Linked DNA regions of Homo sapiens: all the other regions are linked to region 1. Evidence: promoter capture Hi-C in 16 types of primary human blood cells and fetal thymus (Javierre and others, 2016). All regions are on one chromosome and are shown on one strand. The core of a region is centred on a gene start or on the middle of the fragment in contact, and the rest is flanking DNA. Distances in the headings are between cores, read along the strand shown.

The links. The method cuts DNA at HindIII sites, captures the fragments that hold promoters and counts their contacts. A CHiCAGO score of 5 or more calls a contact.
Region 2: a fragment that was not itself captured here is called in contact with the fragment with the promoter of ATP13A1 in region 1 in 1 of 17 cell types (erythroblasts); the score reaches 5.0 in erythroblasts.
Region 3: a contact is called between a fragment that was not itself captured here and the fragment with the promoter of ATP13A1 in region 1, in 1 of 17 cell types (monocytes). The highest score is 5.3, in monocytes.
Region 4: a fragment that was not itself captured here is called in contact with the fragment with the promoter of ATP13A1 in region 1 in 1 of 17 cell types (M0 macrophages); the score reaches 5.1 in M0 macrophages.
Region 5: a fragment that was not itself captured here is called in contact with the fragment with the promoter of ATP13A1 in region 1 in 1 of 17 cell types (monocytes); the score reaches 13.0 in monocytes.
Region 6: a fragment that was not itself captured here is called in contact with the fragment with the promoter of ATP13A1 in region 1 in 4 of 17 cell types (M0 macrophages, monocytes, M1 macrophages and 1 more); the score reaches 8.9 in M0 macrophages.
Region 7: a contact is called between a fragment that was not itself captured here and the fragment with the promoter of ATP13A1 in region 1, in 1 of 17 cell types (M1 macrophages). The highest score is 6.6, in M1 macrophages.

What each region holds. Positions count from the first base shown.
Region 1 is chr19:19,662,008-19,665,305 of GRCh38, reverse strand. ATP13A1 (ATPase 13A1) reads left to right here and starts at 1,630. Exons shown (of 26, transcript NM_020410.3): 1 at 1,630-2,035. The coding sequence starts at 1,640. RefSeq lists silencers at 1,144-1,193, 1,634-1,893 and enhancers at 1,294-1,583, 1,927-2,028, 1,300-2,282, 2,414-2,463, 3,164-3,298 and 1 more. The HindIII fragment of the contact is 4,289 bases long and covers 1-2,481 here.
Region 2 is chr19:21,500,193-21,503,130 of GRCh38, reverse strand. It overlaps LINC00664 (long intergenic non-protein coding RNA 664), which reads right to left. Exons shown (of 11, transcript NR_037194.1): 11 at 1-1,860. Among named protein-coding and RNA genes, the nearest start is that of ZNF429, 3.9 kb to the left of the region's middle. The HindIII fragment of the contact is 2,961 bases long and covers 23-2,938 here.
Region 3 is chr19:21,331,905-21,334,819 of GRCh38, reverse strand. No RefSeq gene overlaps it. Among named protein-coding and RNA genes, the nearest start is that of ZNF708, 4.0 kb to the right of the region's middle. The HindIII fragment of the contact is 3,203 bases long and covers 1-2,915 here.
Region 4 is chr19:21,135,810-21,138,937 of GRCh38, reverse strand. No RefSeq gene overlaps it. Among named protein-coding and RNA genes, the nearest start is that of ZNF431, 4.7 kb to the left of the region's middle. The HindIII fragment of the contact is 7,891 bases long and covers 1-3,128 here.
Region 5 is chr19:21,473,925-21,477,281 of GRCh38, reverse strand. No RefSeq gene overlaps it. Among named protein-coding and RNA genes, the nearest start is that of LINC00664, 8.1 kb to the left of the region's middle. RefSeq lists an enhancer at 2,134-2,787. The HindIII fragment of the contact is 1,474 bases long and covers 1,060-2,533 here.
Region 6 is chr19:21,024,353-21,027,498 of GRCh38, reverse strand. The region is part of intron 2 of ZNF430 (zinc finger protein 430); the gene reads right to left. Among named protein-coding and RNA genes, the nearest start is that of ZNF430, 5.3 kb to the right of the region's middle. RefSeq lists an enhancer at 2,821-3,146. The HindIII fragment of the contact is 3,709 bases long and covers 1-3,146 here.
Region 7 is chr19:21,047,313-21,050,191 of GRCh38, reverse strand. All of the region lies in intron 4 of ZNF430 (zinc finger protein 430), which reads right to left. Among named protein-coding and RNA genes, the nearest start is that of ZNF430, 28 kb to the right of the region's middle. The HindIII fragment of the contact is 4,673 bases long and covers 1-2,879 here.

The sequences.
Region 1 (3,298 bases), core at 381-2,880:
GACAAAAAGAAACATAAAATAGTTACTGTTTGTCACACATACTGTTTAATCCTACTAATTGGTACTGTTAAGTAGTCCTATTGTGGTTTTGTTCAAATAGCATTTATGCAACAGTACAGTTAATAATATAGAACTATATAATTTCTTTTTTTTTTTTTTTTCAGACAGAGTCTCGCTCTGTCGCCCAGGCTGGAGTGCAGTGGCGCGATCTCGGCTCACTGCAAGCTCCGCCTCCCAGGTTCAGGCCATTCTCCTGCCTCAGCCTCCCGAGTAGCTGGGACTACAGGCGCCTGCAACCACGCCCGGCTAATTTTTTGTATTTTTAGTAGAGACGGGGTTTCACTGTGTTAGCCAGGACGGTCTCGATCTCCTGAACTCGTGATCCGCCCGCCTCGGCCTCCCAAAGTGCTGGAATTACAGGGGTGAGCCACCGCGCCCGGCCTAGAAGTATATAATTTCAAGTAAACACCAGTTTTTCATTTTTTATGTTAAAGTGGTAATTTCTTTTTTTTTTTTTTTTTTTTTTTGGAGACAGAGTCTCGCTCTGTCGCCCAGGCTGGAGGGCAGTGGCACAATCTCCGCTCACTGCAAGCTCTGCCTCTCCAGTTCGCGCCATTCTGCCTCAGGCTCCGGAGTAGCTGGGACTACAGGCGCCCGCCACCACGCCCGGAGAATTTTTTTTTTTTTTTTGTATTTTTAGTGGAGACGGGGTTTCACCGCGTTAGCCAGGATGGTCTCGATCTCCTGACCTCGGCCTCCCAAAGTGCTGGGATTACAGGCGTGAGCCACCGCGCCCGGCCTAAAGTGGTTTTTGTAATTCATTTTTCTTTTTTTTTTTTTTGAGACAGTCTTGCTCTGTTGGCCAGGCTGAAGTGCAGTGGAGCAATCTTGGCTCACTGCAACCTCCGTCTCCCGGGCTCAAGCAATTCTCCTGCCTCATCCTCCCGAGTAGCTGGGATTACAGGCATGTGCCACCACGCCCGGCTAATTTTTGTATTTTTAGTAGAGACGTGGTTTCACCATGTTGGGTCTTGAACTCCTGATCTCAGGTGATCCACCCGCCTCGCCTCCCAAAGTGTTGGGATTACAGGCGTGAGCCACCGCGCCCGGCTAGTATTTGTAATTCTTATCTATCACATTAAGGCTCTTGTCCGGTGTGGTTGTGTTCCGGGGCGGTCCCCGACCCCGCCCCTCACAAGCCCCGCCCCCCGCACCGGGCCCCGCCTCCTGAACTCCGAAGCTCCCGACCCCGCCTCCGCAGGGTCCAGGCTTCGCCCCTGGTGACAGGTGGTGCTGGTGTAGTCAAGGAGGAGGGCTCGCTTTTTTTGGTTCAGGTTGTCATGGTGGCGCCCAAGCCCGCCTTGCCGGCCTTGTCTTTTCCGGTCTCAGTCCGGCGTGGCAGCGGAGGCAGGCACCGTTAGGTCTTCCAGTCCCTCTCTGTCATGGCGACGCCCAGCCTCTTCTTCCGGCCACAGCCTGTCATGGCGGCACCCGAAGTAGTCCCTGCCGGGGCCAGCCTGTTCTGTTGCCCTGGCTCTTCCTAGTCCAGGCTGCCATGGCGGCGCTCAGGGCTTACCGGAAGTAAAACTTCGGAAGTGAGGCGTTCCTCTGCCCGGAAGTGAGCGCGGCGCTAGGAAAGATGGCGGCAGCGGCGGCGGTGGGCAACGCGGTGCCCTGCGGGGCCCGGCCTTGCGGGGTCCGGCCTGACGGGCAGCCCAAGCCCGGGCCGCAGCCGCGCGCGCTCCTTGCCGCCGGGCCGGCGCTCATAGCGAACGGTGACGAGCTGGTGGCTGCCGTGTGGCCGTACCGGCGGTTGGCGCTGTTGCGGCGCCTCACGGTGCTGCCATTCGCCGGGCTGCTTTACCCGGCCTGGTTGGGTGCCGCAGCCGCTGGCTGCTGGGGCTGGGGCAGCAGTTGGGTGCAGATCCCCGAAGCTGCGCTGCTCGTGCTTGCCACCATCTGCCTCGCGCACGCGCTCACTGTCCTCTCGGGGCATTGGTCTGTGCACGCGCATTGCGCGCTCACCTGCACCCCGGTAAGTGTGTACACGCGAGCCCGACCCCCAGCACGGTCGAGCCTCGCCGTGGGTCCCAGCTGCGGCCTTCCTGTCGGTCACCATCGCGACCTGGGCCACTCATCTGCCTGGCCTGGATTCCCAGGGGCACCCTCTACACTTTGGCGCAGGCTTAATCATGACCCCACTGCTGACTTGCTGTGCATGCCTGGTGCGGGTTATTTCCTTTTTCTGAAGTCCTCCCTGTTATGGTCATTTAGATTCAGTGATGTAATACTTGTAAAAGGCTTAGCGCAGGGCCCAGCATACGTCGCCCAGGTCAGGTAGGAGTTGTTTATACTAGTTCCCATATTAGCGACTACTCTTGTTCTGGAAACGGCCCTACCTTCCATCTCATCTGTCTCCTACCTTGGTTTTCAAAGTGTAAGGCGAGATCACTGGGATAGGTTTCCCCCATCTATGAAGCTTAGTTGGTTCTTAGACTGAACCAAGTCTTGCTGTCCAGTGCTTAGTGGTCTTCCATACTGTGATGGAAAGGAGCATGAAATGCAGTTAATTACAGTGTTGAAGAGAGGCAGAGGTGTTTATGAGCGAGTCATTTACATGATGTCTTTCCGCAAAATGAGGGTGGTGATACTGAGTTCTGTCGGGGATACAACAGCAAGCAAGGTCGCGCTCCTGACCCACAGTTTAGAGTTCTGAGTGACCAAGTGTCGTCGGAGGAGTTGGTGACTGTGAGCTTCCCTGGGCCTGAAGCAGTGACTGTGTCGTCTCTCTCTGGGCCTGCCTCAGGTGACACCAGCAGGTTTGGAGCCATGGACACTGAGGTATATCAGGAAGCTTCCCCTCTGATTCCAGGAGTGTGTTTGCCTCAAGAAGAGGAAAAGGGAACAGCATCAAGGGCTACAGAAAGACAGAAGCCCCCCACCCTGGCTGGCTCTGAATGTGGGTAGAATCCTCATTCTCCTCTCCTGAGAGACAACCTGTTCTGTCCTTCAAAAAGACTTATCTATCCCAGGGGAGGAGCTCAACGTGGTAGCTTTGAGGTAGTACAATGAAAGACACCAATGAGGGACAAAATAAAGGAGGGGTTAAGGGGACTGTGGCACCGCTCAAACTTCAGCTGCCTTTTGACCTGCAGCTAAGCAGCTTAGCTCTTAACTTCCTCTCCAGGGATGGAGAAGTGGGAGGAGCTGAACAGCCATCAGCCAGGAGAGGTGGATCTGGGTTTGATTCAGATCTCAGAAAGGGCCGCTTCTGCTCTCTGAGTTTCAGTTTCCCCCT
Region 2 (2,938 bases), core at 254-2,753, 1.8 Mb before region 1:
AATTAAACATAAGAGGGAAGCTTTAGGCTACAACTAATTTAACAATTTCTCCCTTTTGTCATCTTCTCAAGTTTGAGACCAAAACTTTAGACATTAATATCACTTTGTCACCATCAAAAATGTACTTATTTAGACTCGAATCTCACTGTGAAACAGCAGAACTGTGGGTTTGTAAAGTGGAAATAAAAACTTCAGCTTATTATTTTGAAATTATTTTTATTTGTTTTTTAAAGTGTTAGAGTACAGGGGACCTCCTTGTGTTGAAATCTGCTATTTAGAGAAGAAAAACAAAACCTGGCCAGTTTTAGAATCTACCTGTTGCCTTAAATTTTTAGTTTAATTATGTCACATCCAGCATGAGTGACTCATTTTGGTTTGGTTTGTTTGGACCTAGTGCATAAGCTCAGTCCAGAATTATGGCCTCCAATAGTTTTCTTTAAAAAATTCCCCGTTTGGTTAAGTTCTTACATAGGTCACAGTGTAACCAAAACTCGGGGCTTTAGTGCCACTCTCAGTTTCCATTATTTTTGTTTTTTGTCCTTAGCATGTCATTCATAGGTTGTGCTGTCTTCATAGTCACATATGTCTTTGAGTTTCTGTCATTCCAGTTAAAGAGAGACCATTTGACATTCTACAGATGACTACATTCAAACGTTTACATCTTTTGAGAGAATACAGTGCAGTAGGAAGATTACCATTTTGACTATCAGGAGGATAATACCAAGAGTTTGAAGCATGCTTTTTAGCCAGGGTCCCCATGAACAACCAATTAAAGTTAAATAGATCAAATAGTTAGCTAGATAAATGATCTACTCATTTCATCTAATCAGCCTGTTCATGAATCATCTACAACTGCATCTCTGTAATACCGGCTGTAGTTCTCCATGGGCAACTATTAGCAACTGCACAGATATCTATTTATCCAGTAAGTAATCAAAAGAAATTATATTTAGCATAACTTTGTGAGAAAACTTAAAGTCTATTGTGTAAGCATAGTTTTTATGGTATAATCTGCTATAGAGCCCTATTGAGAGGGATAAATTTGTAACCATTGCCTCATTTACTCTAAACAGTGATACCCATTCAGAAGAGTAATGGCCTCCTGGCAATGCTCTTTAACCTATTCTGAATAAGTTCTTTTTAACTTATGAAATAGGTTAAGAGCAGTGGACCAATATTCTGTTTTTGATATTGTGAGAAAACAAATGTTTCATTAAAACTTCTCACCTACATTGGCCCTTCTTCTTTTACCTTTCAAGGAATAAGTTTCCTCATACATAATGTTGGCTGCAAAATTCTCTACATATAAGTATACCCCCATGAGTGCACACAAGAGACCACTTTTTAAAATTTCTGTGGTTTGTAGAACCATAAACAAACTGTGAACTAAGAGTGTCATGATAACGAGATGTCTTGATTTTTGATCTTGTGAAAAAAGCTATCTACATGGAGACGGCCATCTGCTTTTGAGGACAAACTTTCCTGGTTAGCTTTACCTTAAAATCTCCTATGGGTTTACAATTTCAAGAGTTTGGAGGGGCCCTTCTAAGTTGTGAGATTATCAATCCAATGTTCAAGGTCTTGAAGTCTTGCGTCAGTGTAGGTGGCAGGCAGATTCAATCTCTGGGTTCTTGATTATAAAGGGTTTTACTCTCCTCAGTCAGTAGACTAGTAAAGGCTTTCCTCACCTGGTGAAAATGTGCTTTGCCATAATGCATTAAAGCCTTGTTGAATTTAGTAATGTTAGACTTTAGTAGCAGAAGACACATGAGGTTCTATTACGCACATAGGCCTTCTAATGACTATTTTATAAGGGCCAACATACTTTTTCCACTCTAAGTGAATCTGATTGTCATCAATCTGCAATTACAAAAGCAATCCAGTCAATTTAGTTAGCTTTGCTCAATACTATTGTACCTGTAATACTGTGGCAGGCCAGACCTCACTAACAACTGTTTCAGTACTGACTGAGTGGTTAAGTTAAATATTAAAAGCCAGTGACCAGCCGGGCGCAGTGGCTCACACCTATAATCCCAGCACCTTGGGAGGCCGAGGCAGGCGGATCACAAGGTCAAGAGATCGATACCATCCTGGCCAACATGGTGAAACCCCGTCTCTACTAAAAATACAAAAAAATTAGCTGGGCGTGGTGGCATGTGCCTGTAGTCCCAACTATTTGGGAGGCTGAGGCAGAAGGATGGCTTGAACCCTGGAGGCGGAGTTTGCAGTGAGCTGAGATTGTACAGCTGCACTCCAGCCTGGTGACAGAGTGAGACCCCGTCTCAATTAAAAAAAAAAAAAAAGCCAGTGACCTTATACAAAGGCTGGGATGTAACAAAAGCCCATCAAGAGTTTCGCCTAGGCCTTTCTTGGGCCTTATAGGATTAAACAAGTTTTATTGGGGGTCTGAAGAAATTCCCCAGGCCTCTACAAACAGGTTTATTGGAGGTCTGAAGGAATTCACCAAACCACTGTGATTTAGCAGGAGACAAGATAAGGGTAATTACCCCAGCACCTGGACCCATTTAGATTAAGTAAATTTACTGAGGCTGCAGGGGAAGGTCTTCAAGACTCAGACCTTAGTTACAGATTAAATAAAAGAAGTTAATCACTTATCTCTTTAGATGAATGCACACTTACATGTAGACATATAGCTTAGAAGGTATATAGGCTCTGGAAAACGTTGTAATTTTGAGTTGGTCTGGTGATAATTTCCAGGCCTTCTCCCTGTAACTGGTTGCAGAAATAAAACTCTCTTCCTCCCCAGTTCATCTGCATCTCGTTATTGGGCCATGAGAAATAGCAGCCCAACTCTCAGTTTGGTCCAGGAACAATACCTTATTTAACAGTTTTACAACTTGTCTAGTGAAATAAGTATCTTGATCATTAGAGACCTTTCAGAAATGTCCCATGAAAAAAAAACATATTTTCTAATATT
Region 3 (2,915 bases), core at 248-2,747, 1.7 Mb before region 1:
CTACAGGCCAGGTTTTGCTTTTCTTTTGTAAACAGCAGATTTGAACACAAGGAGGTCCCCTCTACTGTAATCCTTTAAAAAACTAATAACCTGAAGTCTTTGTTTCCACTTTTCAAAATCCACAGTTCTGCTATTTTAAAGTGGAATTTGAGACTAATTAAGTACTTTTTGTTGTTGTTGTTTTTGACATGAAGTTTCACTCTTATCACCCACGCTGGAGTGCAATGACACGATCTCAGCTCACTGCAACCTCTGCCTCCTGGGTTCAAGGGATTCTCCTGCCTCAGCCTCCTGAGTAGCTGGGATTAGAGGTGCTCACCACCATGCCCAGCTAAGTTTTGTATTTTCAGTAGAGATGGGGTTTCACCATGTTGGCCAGGCTGGTCTCAAACTCCTGACCTCAGGTGATCTGCCTGCCTCAGCCTCCCAAAGTGCTGGGATTACAGGCATGAGCTACCACGCCCAGCCTAAATAAGTACATTTTTTTTATGGTAACAGAGTGATATCATTATCTAAAGTTCTGGTCTATTTCTCAACATTGAGAAGATGTCCAAAAGGGAAAAATTATTAAATTATAGCCTAAAGCTGTTTCCTATTGTGTTTAATTTTGGTTAATAGGTTTTTTAATATATAGTAAATGGAAATCTAATTGGATATGTAAATAGACTGGAATCCATTTTTGTACCAACTGCTGTGTTGTTGCCAATAAGAGGACATCAACTGTTCAAACCATGTTCAAATAAGGCAAATTCCTGGCTTTAATCAATCTTGCTGTTTCTGTACCTCACTTTCATTATCTGAATGTCACTTTGCTTTGTCTGTCCATAAATATTTTTCTACCATGTGGCTGTGCTGGAGTCTCACTGAGCCTACTGTGGATCCACAGTCTGCCTGATTTGCAAATTATTCATTGCTCACTTAAACTCTGTTAAATTTAATTTTATTTCTCTAAAGTTTTTTTTCTTTTAAAAGTTTTCCAATTTTTTCTATGATGAAAAATATATAATGTGTTGTTCGGCTTTTTTTTTTTTTTTTTTTTTTGAGACGGAGTTTCACTCTTGTTGCCCAAGCTGGAGTGCAATAGTAGGATCTTGGTTCACTGCAACCTCAGCCTCCCGGGTTCAAGTAATTCTCCTGCCTCAGCCTCCCGAGTAGCTGAGTTACAGGCACTTGCCACTAAGCCTGGCTGATTTTTTGTATTTTTAGTAGAAACGAGCTTTCACCATGTTAGCCAGGCTGGTCTCAAACTCCTAACCTCAGGTGATCCACCCACCTCAGCCACCCAAAGTGCCGGGATTATAGGTGTGAGCCACTGTGCCCAGCCCAAATTTTTTCTATGATGAAAAATATATAATGTGTTGCTGGGCTTTGATTTTTTTTTTTTTTTGGAGGTGGAGCTTTGCTCTTGCCACCCATGTTAGACTTCAATGGCAGGATCTCCACTCATGGCAACCTCCGCCTCCTGGGTTCAAATGATTCTCCTTCCTCAGCCTCCCAAGTAGCTGGGTGTACAGGTGAGCACCACCATGTCCAGATAGTTTTGTATTTCTAGTAGAGATGGGGTTTCTCCATGATTGGCCAGGATGGTCTCGAACTCCTCACCTCAGGTGATCCACCCACCTTGGCATCTCCAAGTGCTGGGATTACAGGCATAAGCCACGATGCCCTGCCAGCTTTGATTTCATAAACTCAATCCTTAGCTATTTTTCCAAATTATTTTATGTCCTTTCAAATTGCTTCTGTAATTTATTGTATTTATTTATTTATTTTGAGACAGGGTCTCACTCTATTACCCAGGCTGAAGTGTAATGGTGTAACCCATCATGGCTCACTGCAGCCCCGACCTTCCAGGCTCCAGCAATCTTCCTGCCCCAGCCAACTGAGTAGCTGGGACTACAGACATGCACCATTATGCCTGGCTAATTTAAACTTTTTTTTTTCATGGAGACAAGATTTTACCATGTTGCCAAAGCTGCACTTGAACTCCTGAGCTCACGTGATTCTTCCATTTCAGCCTCTTAAAGTACTATGATTACAGGTTTAAGCCACCGTCTGCTTCTGGAATTTCTTGAGAGAATTATTCTCAATAATAAACAGTACCATATGGGCATGAATCTAAAGGACCTCTGTCCTCTATTGTAGAAGTTCCACTCTCCAGGATTTCAAAGGACTAGGGCAGATTCTGTAATATTGTTATCTATGGTGGTGCATGGGCTTTGAAGTCAGAATTTATTCTGAATCTCAGCTCAGCCACTTAGTAGCCGTTAGTCTTTGGACAAATTTCTTTCTGTGGAAGAGTTCTATAAACCACATACATTAAAAAGGGCAGAATAATAATGATTACCAAAATGGTAGCAATTTTTCATCCTCCTGTATTCTTGCCCATTGCCAGGTGCTTTTACAGTTGTTCCATTGAGATCCAGAATCTGTTTTCTGAACACTAGATCTGGCGGGTCGTACTTGCTCAGGGCAGTAGAAACCTGTGGACATGACAGTGGGCTAGTTTGGGGCCCAGGCTCAAATGGTCTTGAATGCTTCTGTTTTTATTTCAGAATGCTGCCATCTCCATGGGAAAAACCCACGTTGGCCAGTCAGAGAATAAGATACCATGGAAAGGAGAAAAAAAGTTGCCCCTGTTGACAGCTCCAGAAGCAGAAGCTCACTCCCAGAAACACAGCTGCTTAGTCAACAAGCAGCTGATGATACATGTCTAAAAATGCTCAGCTGAGACTAGAGAAATGGCCCCACTGAGCCCAGCCCAAATGGCTGACCATTTCAATTATGAGCTAATAAGTTTTGGATGGTTTGTTATGCTGCAATAGCTAACTAATACATGCACCCAGTGCAGACAGGATGCCAGGATTTAATGACAGATTCAGTACTACTTACCTTCACACAGTGGACACTCTAAAGGT
Region 4 (3,128 bases), core at 280-2,779, 1.5 Mb before region 1:
AAATAAATCAAATGGTGCCATCTCGACTCACTGCAACCTCCGCCTCTCGGATTCAGCCATTATCCTGCCTCAGCCTCCCAAGTGGCTGGGATTACAGGCGCTTGCCACCATGCCTGGCTAATTTTTGTATTTTTAGTAGAGACGAGGTTTCACCATATTTACCAGGCTGGTCTTGAATTCCTGACCTCAGGTTATCCACTTGCCTCAGCCTCCCAAAGTGCTGAGATTACAGGAGCGAGCCACTGCACCCAGCCCTGATAAAATAGTGTTAAGCAAAGCTAACTAAATGGACTGGATTGTTTTTGTAATTGAGACTGATGACAATCAGATTCACTGAGAGTGAAAAAAATGTGTTGACTATTATAAAATAGTCATTGGATGTCTTATGCACCAGATAATAGAACCTCATGTATCTTCTGCTACTGAAGTCTAATATGATTAAATGCAGCAAAACTTCAGTGCATTATGGCAAAGCATATTTTCACCAGGTAAAGAATGCTTTTAATGGTCTACTGACTGAGGACAGTAAAACTCTTTATAATCTATAACCCAGAGATTGAGTCTGCTTGCCATCCACACTGCAGCAAGACTTCAGGACCTTGAACCTTGGGTTAATAATCTCATGACTCAGAAGGGCCCCTCCAAACATTTGCAATTGTATATCCATTGGAGATCTTAAGGTAAAGCTAACCAGTAAAGTTTCTTCTCAAAAGTGGATGGCAACATTGATATAGATAGCTTTTTTTTTTTTTTTTTGAGACAGAGCCTTGCTCTCTCATCCAGGCTGGAGTGCAGTGGTGTGGTGGTGGCTCACTGCAACCTCCACCTCCCGGGTTCAAGCGATTCTTCTGCCTCAGCCTCCCGAGTAGCTGGGACTACAGGTGTGTGCCACCATGTCCAGCTAGTTTTTGTATTTTTAGTAGAGTCGGGGTTTCACCATATTGGCCAGGCTGGTCTCGAACTCCTGACCTTGTGATCCACCCACCTCGGCCTCCCAAAGTGCTGGGATTACAAGCATGAGCCACCGCACCTGGCCCAGATAGACTTTTTTTTTTATAAGATCAAAAATCAAGACATCTTTGCTATCATACACTCTTTGTTCGCTGTTTTTTTCTTATGGCTCTACAAATGACAGAAATTAAAAAAGGCCTCTTGTGTGCACTCATGGCATACACTTATATGTAGAAGATTTTGGCTGGGCGTGGTGGCTCACACCTGTAATCCCAGCACTTCAGGAGGCTGAGGCAGGCAGATCGCCTGAAGTTCTGTGCAGTCACTCCAGGAGTGCACAGGAGTGCAGTCACCGCTCAAGAAAACCGATAACCACAGCCAGACAATTAGGGCCAAGGCCAAATAGCAAAATAAATGCCTTTAATCTATTTTCTCCATATCTAAACATTGGAGTTCAAGAGTGTGGACAGAACTGAAGACGTAGAGTTTTTTTCTCCTGTGGCCCCATCATCCTTTGTTAACTGCCTGATCTCTAAAAGGAAGGTGGGCAACAGGTGGCCAGCAGTGGTTTACCTGTGGTTATTTTATTCCTGCTGGCCTCAGCTCTTTCTATGGCCACTATCTGTTCCAACCTCGGAACTGAAGATAGATGTTAGTAGGGAGAGGCCCTTCCTTCCCCTCTGGCCCTTCACACCACTGACATCAGAGCTGCCATGTGTGGCTCCTGGGTGCCTGGAATGTGCTTGGTCTGAACTGCAATGTGCTAGAAAGGTAAAATATGCAGTTATTTTCAAAAATTTAGTTGCAAATATTTATATACTTCATTAATAATTACATATTCCTCACACATTAAAATGATATTTTGGATATATTGGCTTAACTACATTCTTACAATCAATTCAACCCGTTCTTTGTTTCTTTTTAAAGTTTGGCTACTAGAAAATTCAAAATTCACATGTGTCTCACATTCTATTTCAGAGGATTACCTCCTTTTTAAAATCTCAGGCTGCCTACTCAAAGGACTGTAAACCAGGAAGGTAAAAAAGCTGAATTTTTTTTTTTTTTATTTTTTCATGGAGATGGAGTCCCACTTCGTCACCCAGGCTGGAGTACAGTGGCATGATCTCAGCTCACTGTAACCTCTGCCTCCCAGGTATAAGTGATTCTTCTGGCTCAGCCTCCTGAGTGGCTAGGATTACAGGTGCACGTCACCACACCTGGCTAATTTATTTTGAGATGGAGTTTTGCTCTTGTTGCCCAGGCTATAGTGCAATGGCACAATCTCAACTCACTGCAACCTCCACCTCCCGGGGGTTCAAGCAATTCTCCTGCCTCAGCCTCCCGAGTAGCTGGGATTACAGGCATGTGCCACCACACCCAGCTAATTTTGTATTTTTAATAGAGATGGGGTTTCTCCATGTTGGTCAGACTGGTCTCAAACTCCCGACCTCAGGTGATTCACCTGCCTTGGCCTCCCAAAGTTAATTTTTTAGTAGAGGCGGGGTTTCACCATGTTGATCAGGCTGGGCTGGAACTCCTGACCTCATGATCCTCCTGCCTCAGCCTCCCAAAGTGTTTGGATTACAAGCATGAGCCACCACGCTTGGCCAAAAAAAGCTGAAATTTTAAAACATGTGTTATTATGTTATTTTCGTTTGTGTATAGCCATGTATATTTTTTTGAAATGGAGTCTCACTCTGTCGCCCAGGCTGGAGTGCAGTGGCATGATTTCTGCTCACTGCAACCTCCACCTCCCGGGTTCAGGCAATTCTCTACCTCAGCCTCCAGAGTAGCAGATTGGCTCCTGCAGCCCACATGTGCCACCTGCGCCACAGGTGCTGCCCACCATGCCAGGCTAATTTTTGTATTTTTAGTAGAGGTGGGATTTCACCATGTTGGCCAGGCTGGTCTTGAACTCCTGACCTCGTGATCCACCCACCTTGACCTCCCAAAGTGCTGGGATTACAGGCATGAGCCACCGTGCCTGGCCGCCATATGATATATTATTTACAAATGCGTATGACCTTATACGCAAGGTTGAATGCAAATATCCTCTGGGGTGGGTCAAGCTCACCTCAGGGAGGAAGCCCTGCCTGAGAGGGCTGCAGCCCATCATTTAATCATATCTTCTGTCACTCAGGGCCTGAGAGGGTGGGGTTTTAAACGTTATACAGGCT
Region 5 (3,357 bases), core at 547-3,046, 1.8 Mb before region 1:
ATTACAGGCATGAGCCACTGTGCCCAGCGATATTTTGTATTTTTAATAGAGATGGGGTTTTACCATGTTGGCTAGGCTGATCTTGAACTCCTGACCTCAAGTGATCTACCCACCTTGGCCTCCCAAAGTGCTGGAATTACAGGCATGAGCCACTGAGCCTGGCCCTATTTCATCCACTTTTTTATGGAGTTGGTGTTTTTCTTTTTTTTTTTTTTTTGAGATAGAGTCTTACTCTTTGACACAGGCTGGAGTGCAGTGGTGCACTCTTGGTTCACTGCAATCTCCGCCTCCTGGGTTCAAGCGATTCTCCTGCCTCAGCCTCCCCAGTAGCTGGGATTATAGGCATATGCCACCACAGCCAGCTAATTTTTGTACTTTTAGTAGAGACAGGGTTTCGCCATGTTGGCCAGGCTGGTCTTGAACTCCTGACCTCAAGTGATCCAAACGTCTCGACCTCCCAAAGTGCTGGAATTACAGGCATGAGCCACCACGCACAGCCGGGGTTGTTGTTTTTCTACTGTAAATTTGTTTAAGTTCTTATAGATGCTAGACATTAGACCTTCGACGGATGCATAGTTTGCAAAAATTTTCTCCCATGCTGTATGTTATCTGTTTACTCTGTTGATAGTTTCTTTTGCTGTGCAGAAGCTCTTTTTTTTTTTTTTTGAGATGGAGTCCCGCCAAGATCGCGCCACTGCACTCCAGCCTGGGCGACAGAGACTCAGTCTCAAAAAAAAAAATTAAAGACTACATAAGAGACATTACGACATTTTTCAAACATTACCTTCAAATAAAGAGTGTTCTTCTCACATAATTATACAGATTCAAAATATAAGTAGATTGTGAATTTAGGATTATTTTCCCGACTACTCACCTAGACAGAATAATCATTGAAAACCATGGAAAGAGTATGTCATAAACGAAGTAGTGGCAACACAGATGAAAAACACATCGATATTTCTATAGATGACATACGGCTAATTCATATATAAATTAAGCATCACATTGTCTAAAATTGTACAGAGTTGAAAATTATCATTCAATTCATAATATCAAGCTTTGAAAGCAAAAATACAATTAACTGATCTAAAAAAACATACCCCCTCGAAAAGAAACACTAATGTAGAAATAAAAATAAGAGAGATTTTATTTATTTATTTTTTTGAGACGGAGTCTCGCTCTTGTAACCCATACTGGAGTGCAGTGGCGTGATCTTGGCTCACTGCAACCTCAGCCTACCGAATTCCAGCGATTCTCCTGCCTCAGCCTCCCGAGTAGCTGGGATTACAGGCACCCACCACCAAGCCTGGCTAATTTTTGTATTTTTCTTTTAGTAGAGAAGGAGTTTCACCATGTTGGCCAGGCTGGTCTCCTGACCTCAGGTGATCCACCCGCCTTGGCCACCCAAAGTGCTGGGATTACAGGGGTGAGCCACCGCGCCCGGCCAAGAGAGATTTTAACGCATAATATGCTGAATACAACATAGATATTAAAAATAATTCTTTAGATATCTACAGTTTTTAGCTGTGTGTACTCTTGCAGAGCAGGCATTCTGAATCATTGGCATTCAATGAATGGCAGCAAAATTTCACAGAAAAATGCATTACAATCAATAATAGGCTCTAATGAGAAAATTTAATAAATACGAAAAGTACGGCGGAAAAATTTATTTGTGGCCGAAAAGGACGGCGGAAAAATTTCTTTGTGGCCGGGCGCGGTGGCTCACGCCTGTAATCCCAGCACTTTCGGAGGCCGAGGGGGGCGGACCATCTGAGGTCAGGAGTTCAAGACCAGCCTGGCCAACATAGTGAAACCCTGTCTTTACTAAAAATACAAAAAATTAGCCGGGCATGGTGGCGGGTGCCTGTAATCCCAGATATTCGGGAGACTGAGGCTCGAGAATCGCTTGAGCCCAGGAGGCGGAGGTTGCAGTGAGCCGAGATCATGCCACTGCACTCCAGCCTGGAGACAAAAGCGAGACTCCGTCTCACAAAAAAATAATAATAATCAGAAAAGACTTAAGACCCCACGGGCAGCAGCCCCTCCAACGCATACACCGAGTGGGGATTCTGCCGATGACCCGCCTGTCTTCCCTGAACAACCCGGGAAATACTCGGGATTGCGGGTGCAGAGCTGCCCAGAGAGCCCCGGACTGGCGCCGCGCAGAAACTGGCGGGACGCTGTGGTCCTGGCTGCGAGTCCAGCCGCCATCTTGCGGCCAGAGTGGCCTGGAGCGGAGCTGTGCCAGCGGGGACTCAGGTCGGCGACCCAGGAGCGGACTGTGGGGAGGCCGGTCCAGCCGGTTTCACAGGCCGCTCTCCCATCTCGGGATGCTCAACCCGCACACCCACCGGCTGTGACAAAGTCACCTGGGGCTCCCGAGGTGGAGGACGCAGAATAGCAGAGACAGGCAACTAAAACTCTGGCAGGAGCGAGACAAAGGGCCCGCCAAATGCCGGAGGCCACGCCCTCCTCTCCAACTCCGCGCCTGATTGGGCGGTTCCCGCGCCAGCGCCACTGATTGGATAAAGCTTCAGGACCCACCTCCCAGCGCGGCTTCCCCAGCATTAGTGCATTTTATGGGCAGGGAAACAGGCTGAAGTAGGCAGGGTCACCTGCTCAGGGAATTACAGCTAATTAAGAAGTGAGCTGAGGCTTGAAATGCGCTTGCTCTTTCCCTTACCTGGGTCTACTTGTATAATGCATCTGAGTAGTTATTTTAGGGTAAAAAGAAAATTTGGACACCTTTTTAACAACTTTTTAATCATTTTGATAATGCAGGAAAAACCTTCATCCCATCCCTGAGCCCCTCTCTCACCATGCTGTACCACACTGCTGACCACATCGTGGGATGGCCATTAGGAATGGGGCGGGGGGGAGGTGGGCAGAGGGGGCTGAGAATGGGTAAGCATGAATTACGTTGGCCAAATGTGCTCATCTTAGAAAGGCTCCTCAGGCATTTTGTGTGAAGCGTCTATCCTTGGGGTAATTGTGCCCTGACTGCGCTGCATCTCAGTCTGACTTCTCCTTTTGAAAATCACTGGATTACTTTCATTAACGGGTGTGTTTCATTTTCTATTTGAAAATGGCCAGGCTGGGCGCTGTGGCTCACGCCTGTAATCCCAGCACTTTGGGAGGCCGAGGCGGGCGGATCACCTGGGGTCAGGAGTTCAAGACCAGCCTCAACATGGAGAAACCCCGTCTCTACTAAAAATACAATTAGCCAGGCGTGGTGGTGCACGCCTGTAATCCCAGCTACTCAGGAGGCTGAGGCAGGAGAATTGCTTGAACCTGGGAGACGGAGGTTGCAGTGAGCCGAGATCGCGCCATTGCACTCCAGCCTGGGCAACAAGAGTG
Region 6 (3,146 bases), core at 201-2,700, 1.4 Mb before region 1:
TAATCAAGTAGGCTGCATCTCTGGGAGGCAAGTTGGTTCCATATACAATCAATAAATGTTATTCATCACATAAAGAGAACTAATAACAAATACCAAGATTATCTCAATAGATGCTAAAAATACTTTCAATATAATTTAACATTTTTCATGTTTAAAACCCTTAACAAACTAGGCATTGAAGGTATATACTTCAAAACAATGAGACATCAACGACAAACTTACAGCCAACACACTGAATGGACACAAGCTGGAAGCATTCCTCCTTGAAAACTGGCACAAGATAAGGATGCCTTCTCTCAAACATCCTATTCAACATAAAATTGGAAATCCTGGCCAGAGCAATCAGAGAAGAGATGAAAATAAAAGGCATCTGCCGGGCATGGGGGCTCACGCCTGTAATCCCAGCACTTTGGGAGGCTGAGGTGAGCAGATCACGAGGTCAAGAGATCGAGACCATCCTGGCCAACATGGTGAAACCCCGTCTCTCCTAAAAATACAAAACTTAGCTTGGCATGGTGGCATGTGCCTGTAGTCCCAGCTACTCAGGAGGCTGAGGCAGGAGAATCGCTTCAACCTGGGAGGCGGAGGTTGCAGTGAGCCGAGATCACACCACTGCACTCCAGCCTGGCGAGAGCAAGACTCTGTCTCAAAAAAAAAAAAAAAAAAAAAAAGAAAAGAAAAGAAAAAAGGCATCCAAACAGGAAGAAAGGAAGTCTAACTATCCCTGTGTGCAGATGACATGATTCTATATCTTCAAAACCCTATAGTCTCAGCAGGAAAGCTCTTTAAACTAATAAACAACTTTAGCAAAGTTTCAGGATACAAAATACACGTACAAAAATCAGTAGAATCTCTGTACATCAAAACATCCAAGCCAAAAGCCAAATCAAAAACATAATCCCATTCACAATTGCCACAAAAAGAATAGAATATCTAGGAATACAGCTAATCAGAATGGTGAAAGATCCCTATGACAAGAATCACAAAACACTGCTTAAAGAAGTCAGAGATTGGCCGGGCACGGTGGCTCACGCCTGTAACCCCAGCACTTTGGGAGGCTGGGGCAGGCAGATCACAAGGTCAGGAGTTTGAGACCAGCCTGATCAACATGGTGAAACTCCATCTCTACTAAAAATACAAAAACTGGCCAGGCGTGGTGGCGTGCGCCTATAATCCCAGCTACTCAGAAGGCTGAGACAGGAGAATAACTTGAACCTGGGAGGCGGAGGTTGCAGTGAGCTGAGATCGTGCCACTGAACTCCAGCCGGGGCAACACAGTGAGACTCCGTCTCAAGAAAAAAAAAAAAAAGTCAGAGATTACGGCCAGGCATGATGGCTCATGCCTGTAATCCCAGCACTTTGGGAGGCCGAGGCAGGTGGATCATGAGGTCAAGAGACGGAGACCATCCTGGTCAACATGGTGAAACCCCGTCTCTACTAAAAATACAAAAATTAGATCCAGGAGTGCATCCAGAGGAAACCATGCCATGGATCTGGGGCCCACATTACTATCTCATAAAAAGTGTGATGACCAGGTTTATGGATCACTCTGTTCTCAATGACAGAAACTTCAGTCTGTATTAAGAAGATATGGCTGCAGAAAGACAAGATGAATTGTGGAAAGAGTACAAAGAGGGGGAAAGTAGGAGGTTTCCCAGTTCCAATGGCTGACTAATGGGAGGAGGAGATGGAGAAAGCAGAGTAAACTGATTGGACTGAAAAAAAAAAAAAAAAAAGTACAAAAATTAGCCAGGCATGGTGGTAGGCGCCTGTAATCCCAGCTACTGGGGAGGCTGAGGCAGGAGAAATACTTGAACCTGGTAGGTGGAGGTTGCAGTGAGCCGAGATGATGCCGTTGCACTCCAGCCTGGGCAACAGAGTGAGACTCCGTCTCAGATAAAAAAAAAAGGAGAAATGTCAGAGGTGTATTGAATCAGGGCAAATCCATTTCGAATAGGGGCTGGGTAAAATGAGGCTGAGACCTATGGGGCTGCACTCCCAGATGGTTAGGCATTCTAAGTCACAGGATGAGACAAGAGTTCAGCACAAGATACAGGTTATAAAGATCTGGGTGATAAAACAGGTTGCAGTAAAGAAGGTGGATAAAACTCACCAAAACCAAGATGGGATGAGAGTGACCTTTGGTGGTCCTCACTGCTACACTCCCACCAGTGCCATGACAGTTTACAAAATGCCATGGAGACATCATGGAAACATCAGAAAATGACTTTATATTGTCTAATTGGGAGGCAAAAATAATCCACCCCTTGTTTAGCATATAATCAAGAAATAACCATAAAAATGGGCAACCAGCAGCCCTCAGGGCTGCTCTGCCTATAGAGTAAGCCATTCTTTTATTCCTTCTGTTTCCTAATAAACTTGCTTTTACTTTACTCTGTAGACTCACCCTGAATTCTTTCTTGAGCGAAATCCAAGAACCCTCTCTTGGGGTGTGGATTGTGACCCCTTTCCGATAAGAACTCTGCACATTTTCTTTTTCTCATTTAAAAAAATCAGCTGAATTTGTCTTCAGTGGTCTAAATAAAATTTTTCACAGGCTCCTGAACTTGGAGCTACCCTCAATCTGAGCCAATATACAACTCCATTTTATGTCCCTCCTAAGAACATGCTGACTTCAGGGTAAAACATTCTCTGATCTAAAATCTGATTATTTCACCCTTCATTTGTCAGTCACCTCCAACTTCTTTTTTTTTTTTTTAAGATGGAATCTGGCCCTGTCACCCAGGCTGGAGTGCAGTGGCGCGATCTAGGCTCACTGCCAGCTCCACCTCCTGGGTTTACGCCATTCTCCTGCCTCAGCCTCCCGAGTAGCTGGGACTACAGGCGCCCGTGACCACGCCCGGCTGATTTTTTTGTATTTTTAGTAGAGACGGGGTTTCACCATGTTAGCCAGGATGGTCTCCATCTCCTGACCTCATGATCCGCCTGCCTCGGCCTCCCAAAGTGCTGAGATTACAGGTGTGAGCCACAGCATCCGGCCGTCTCCAACTTCTAATTTTGTTTGCTCCTCCCCATGAAAGAAAGCCCTTTTCTGCCTAAACTTTGCAATCCTTAAGGTTCTTACAGTTGGTATTTCCTCCTGTTGCAATAGTCCTTTGGAATTCAAATTTTTAACATAAATCTAA
Region 7 (2,879 bases), core at 9-2,508, 1.4 Mb before region 1:
TATAGGGGGGCTGGGCACAGTGGCTCATGCCTGTAATCCCAGCACTTTGGGAGGCCGAGGCAGGCGGATCACACAGTCAGGAGATCGAGACCGTCCTGGCTAAGACGGTGAAACCCTGCCTCTACTGAAAAAATACAAAAAATTAGCCAGGTGTGGTGGTGGGCGCCTGTGGTCCCAGCTACTCGGGAGGCTGAGGCTGAGATCGAGCCACCGCACTCCAGCCTGGGTGACAGAGAGAGACTCTGTCTCAAAAAAAAAAAAGAGAAGAATAATGTAGGGAAAAAGTAATACAGAGGTAAATTAAAGAAAACGAAAGCTGAGAACTTCCCAAATTTTGATGTAATAAAAAATTCTAACCAATAATATTTAATTCAAAGTTATTTTACTTGAAAAACAAAATAAAAATACAGACTTTCCTAAATTAAATTTCAGGGTGTTCACTATAAGAAATGTTACACGAAATGTAACAAGAAATGTTACACGAAATGTAACAAGAAATGTTGCACGAAATGTAACAAGAAATGTTGCAGGAAACGTAACAAGAAATGTTGCACGAAATGTAACAAGAAATGTTACATGGTGGCCAGACATAGTGGCTCATGCCTGTAATTCTACAGCTTTAGGAAGCCAAGGCAGTCAGATCTCTTGAGACCAGGAGTCCAAGATCCAGTCTGAGAAACACAGACTCTGCATATAAACAAATAGAAATGCTAAAATGAATCCATTTTGTTGAAAAATAAAATGATGCTAGACAGCATCATAAAACCATATATAAAGCTCCCTATTAAATATAAATATACAGATACATATAGAATTTTTTACTATCATAATGGTGCATAAAACCGTTAAAGTTCTGTAGATATAAAAATACAAGATATAAATCTGTTAATAGATACATAATATAATTTGTAGTATCAATAACAAACTGGAAAACATAGCAGTATAGGTTTTGTATTTAATTAAAGTTTAAGAAGTTAAAATATATCTTTTTTACTTTTTTTTTTTTTTTTTTTTTTTTGAGATGGAGTCTTGCTCTGTCACCCAGGCTGGAGTGCAGTGGCGCAATCTCGGCTCACTGCAACCTCTGTCATCTGGGTTCAAGTGATTATCCTGCCTCAGTCTCAGATGTCCTCCACCACATACCTAATTTTTGTATTTTTAGTAGAGACAGTTTCACCATGTTGGCCAGGCTGGTCTCAAACTCCTGACCTCAGGTGATCTATCCATCTCAGCCTCCCAAAGTGTTGGGATTACAGGTGTGAGCCACCATGCTTGGCCTTATTTTTTTAACTTTAAGATATTTTATGCCCCATCTGGGAGGGAGGTGGGGGGCAGCCCCTGCCCGGCCAGCCACCCCGTCCAGGAGGGAGGTTGGGGCCAGCACCCGCCCGGCCAGCCGCCCCGTCCGGGAGGTGGGGGGCGCCTCTGCCCGGCCGCCCCTTCTGGGAAGTGAGGAGCCCCTCTGCCCAGCCGCCACCCCGTCTGGGAGGTGTACCCAACAGCTCATTGAGAACGGGCCATGATGACGATGGCGGTTTTGTCGAATAGAAAAGGGGGGAATGTGGGGAAAAGATAGAGAAATCAGATTGTTGCTGTGTCTGTGTAGAAAGAAGTAGACATAGGAGACTCCATTTTGTTCTGTACTAAGAAAAATTCTTCTGCCTTGGGATGCTGTTAATCTATAACCTTACCCCCAACCCCATGCTCTCTAAAACATGTACTGTGTCCACTCAGGGTTAAATGGATTAAGGGCGGTGCAAGATGTGCTTTGTTAAACAGATGCTTGAAGGCAGCATGCTCGTTAAGAGTCATCACCACTCCCTAATCTCAAGTACCCAGGGACACAAACACTGCGGAAGGCCGCAGGGTCCTCTGCCTAGGAAAACCAGAGACCCTTGTTCACTTGTTTATCTGCTTACCTTCCCTCCACTATTGTCCTATGACCCTGCCAAATCCCCCTCTGCGAGAAACACCCAGGAATGATCAATAAATACTAAAAAAAAAAAAAAAAAAAAAAAAAAAAAAAAGATGTTTTATGTAATCTCCATTTTAAGATGATTACATTATACTTCAAGGTGATTACATAATATTTATAAAAAGTATGCAAAAAATGAAAAAATAATCAAAGCATGTAACGATAAAGTTAACAAAAATAAAGGTAGTAAAACAGGAAATGAGAAAAAACTTATCTACAAGAAATACATAAAACAGGAACAATGAGGTGGTTTCTGCAGATCAGCAGACTTAGTCTTTCCCCCTGCTGGCTCTGAGCAATCCAGGCAGTACAGATGTATGGAATTTCCCTCAGTGCAGCACAGCCACTCCACCAAGGTGCAGCCAGAGTGCTTTCTTAAGTGGTTCCCAGATCTCATGCATCCTGACTGGGTGAGACCCCCACAACAGACATCGTCAGACAACTTATAAAGTAGTGTTCCCACTGTCATCAGATCATTCCCCTTCTGGGACAAAGACCCCAGAGGAAGGAGCAAGCAGTCCTCTCTGCTATTCTGCAGGCTCCACTGGTTGACACCTCCAGGTGTGAGAGAAACCCAGGCAAATAGGGTCTGAAGTAGATCCCAAGCAAATCACAACAGTGCTACAGAAAAGTGGCCTGATGGTTAGAAAAACAAACAGAAAGCAACAACAAAAACAGCATGAACAAAAAAATCCTCACAAGCATCCCATCCAAAGGTCAGCAGCCTCAAAGATCGAAGCTAGAAAAACTCACAAAGATGAAAAGAATAAACCAAAAAATGCTGAAAACTTAAAAAGCCAGAGTGCCTCCTTTCCTCCAAATGATCCCAGCATATCTCCAGGAAGGGCACAGAACTGGGCGGTGGCTAAGGTGGATAAATTGACAAAAGTAGGCTTCAGAAGGT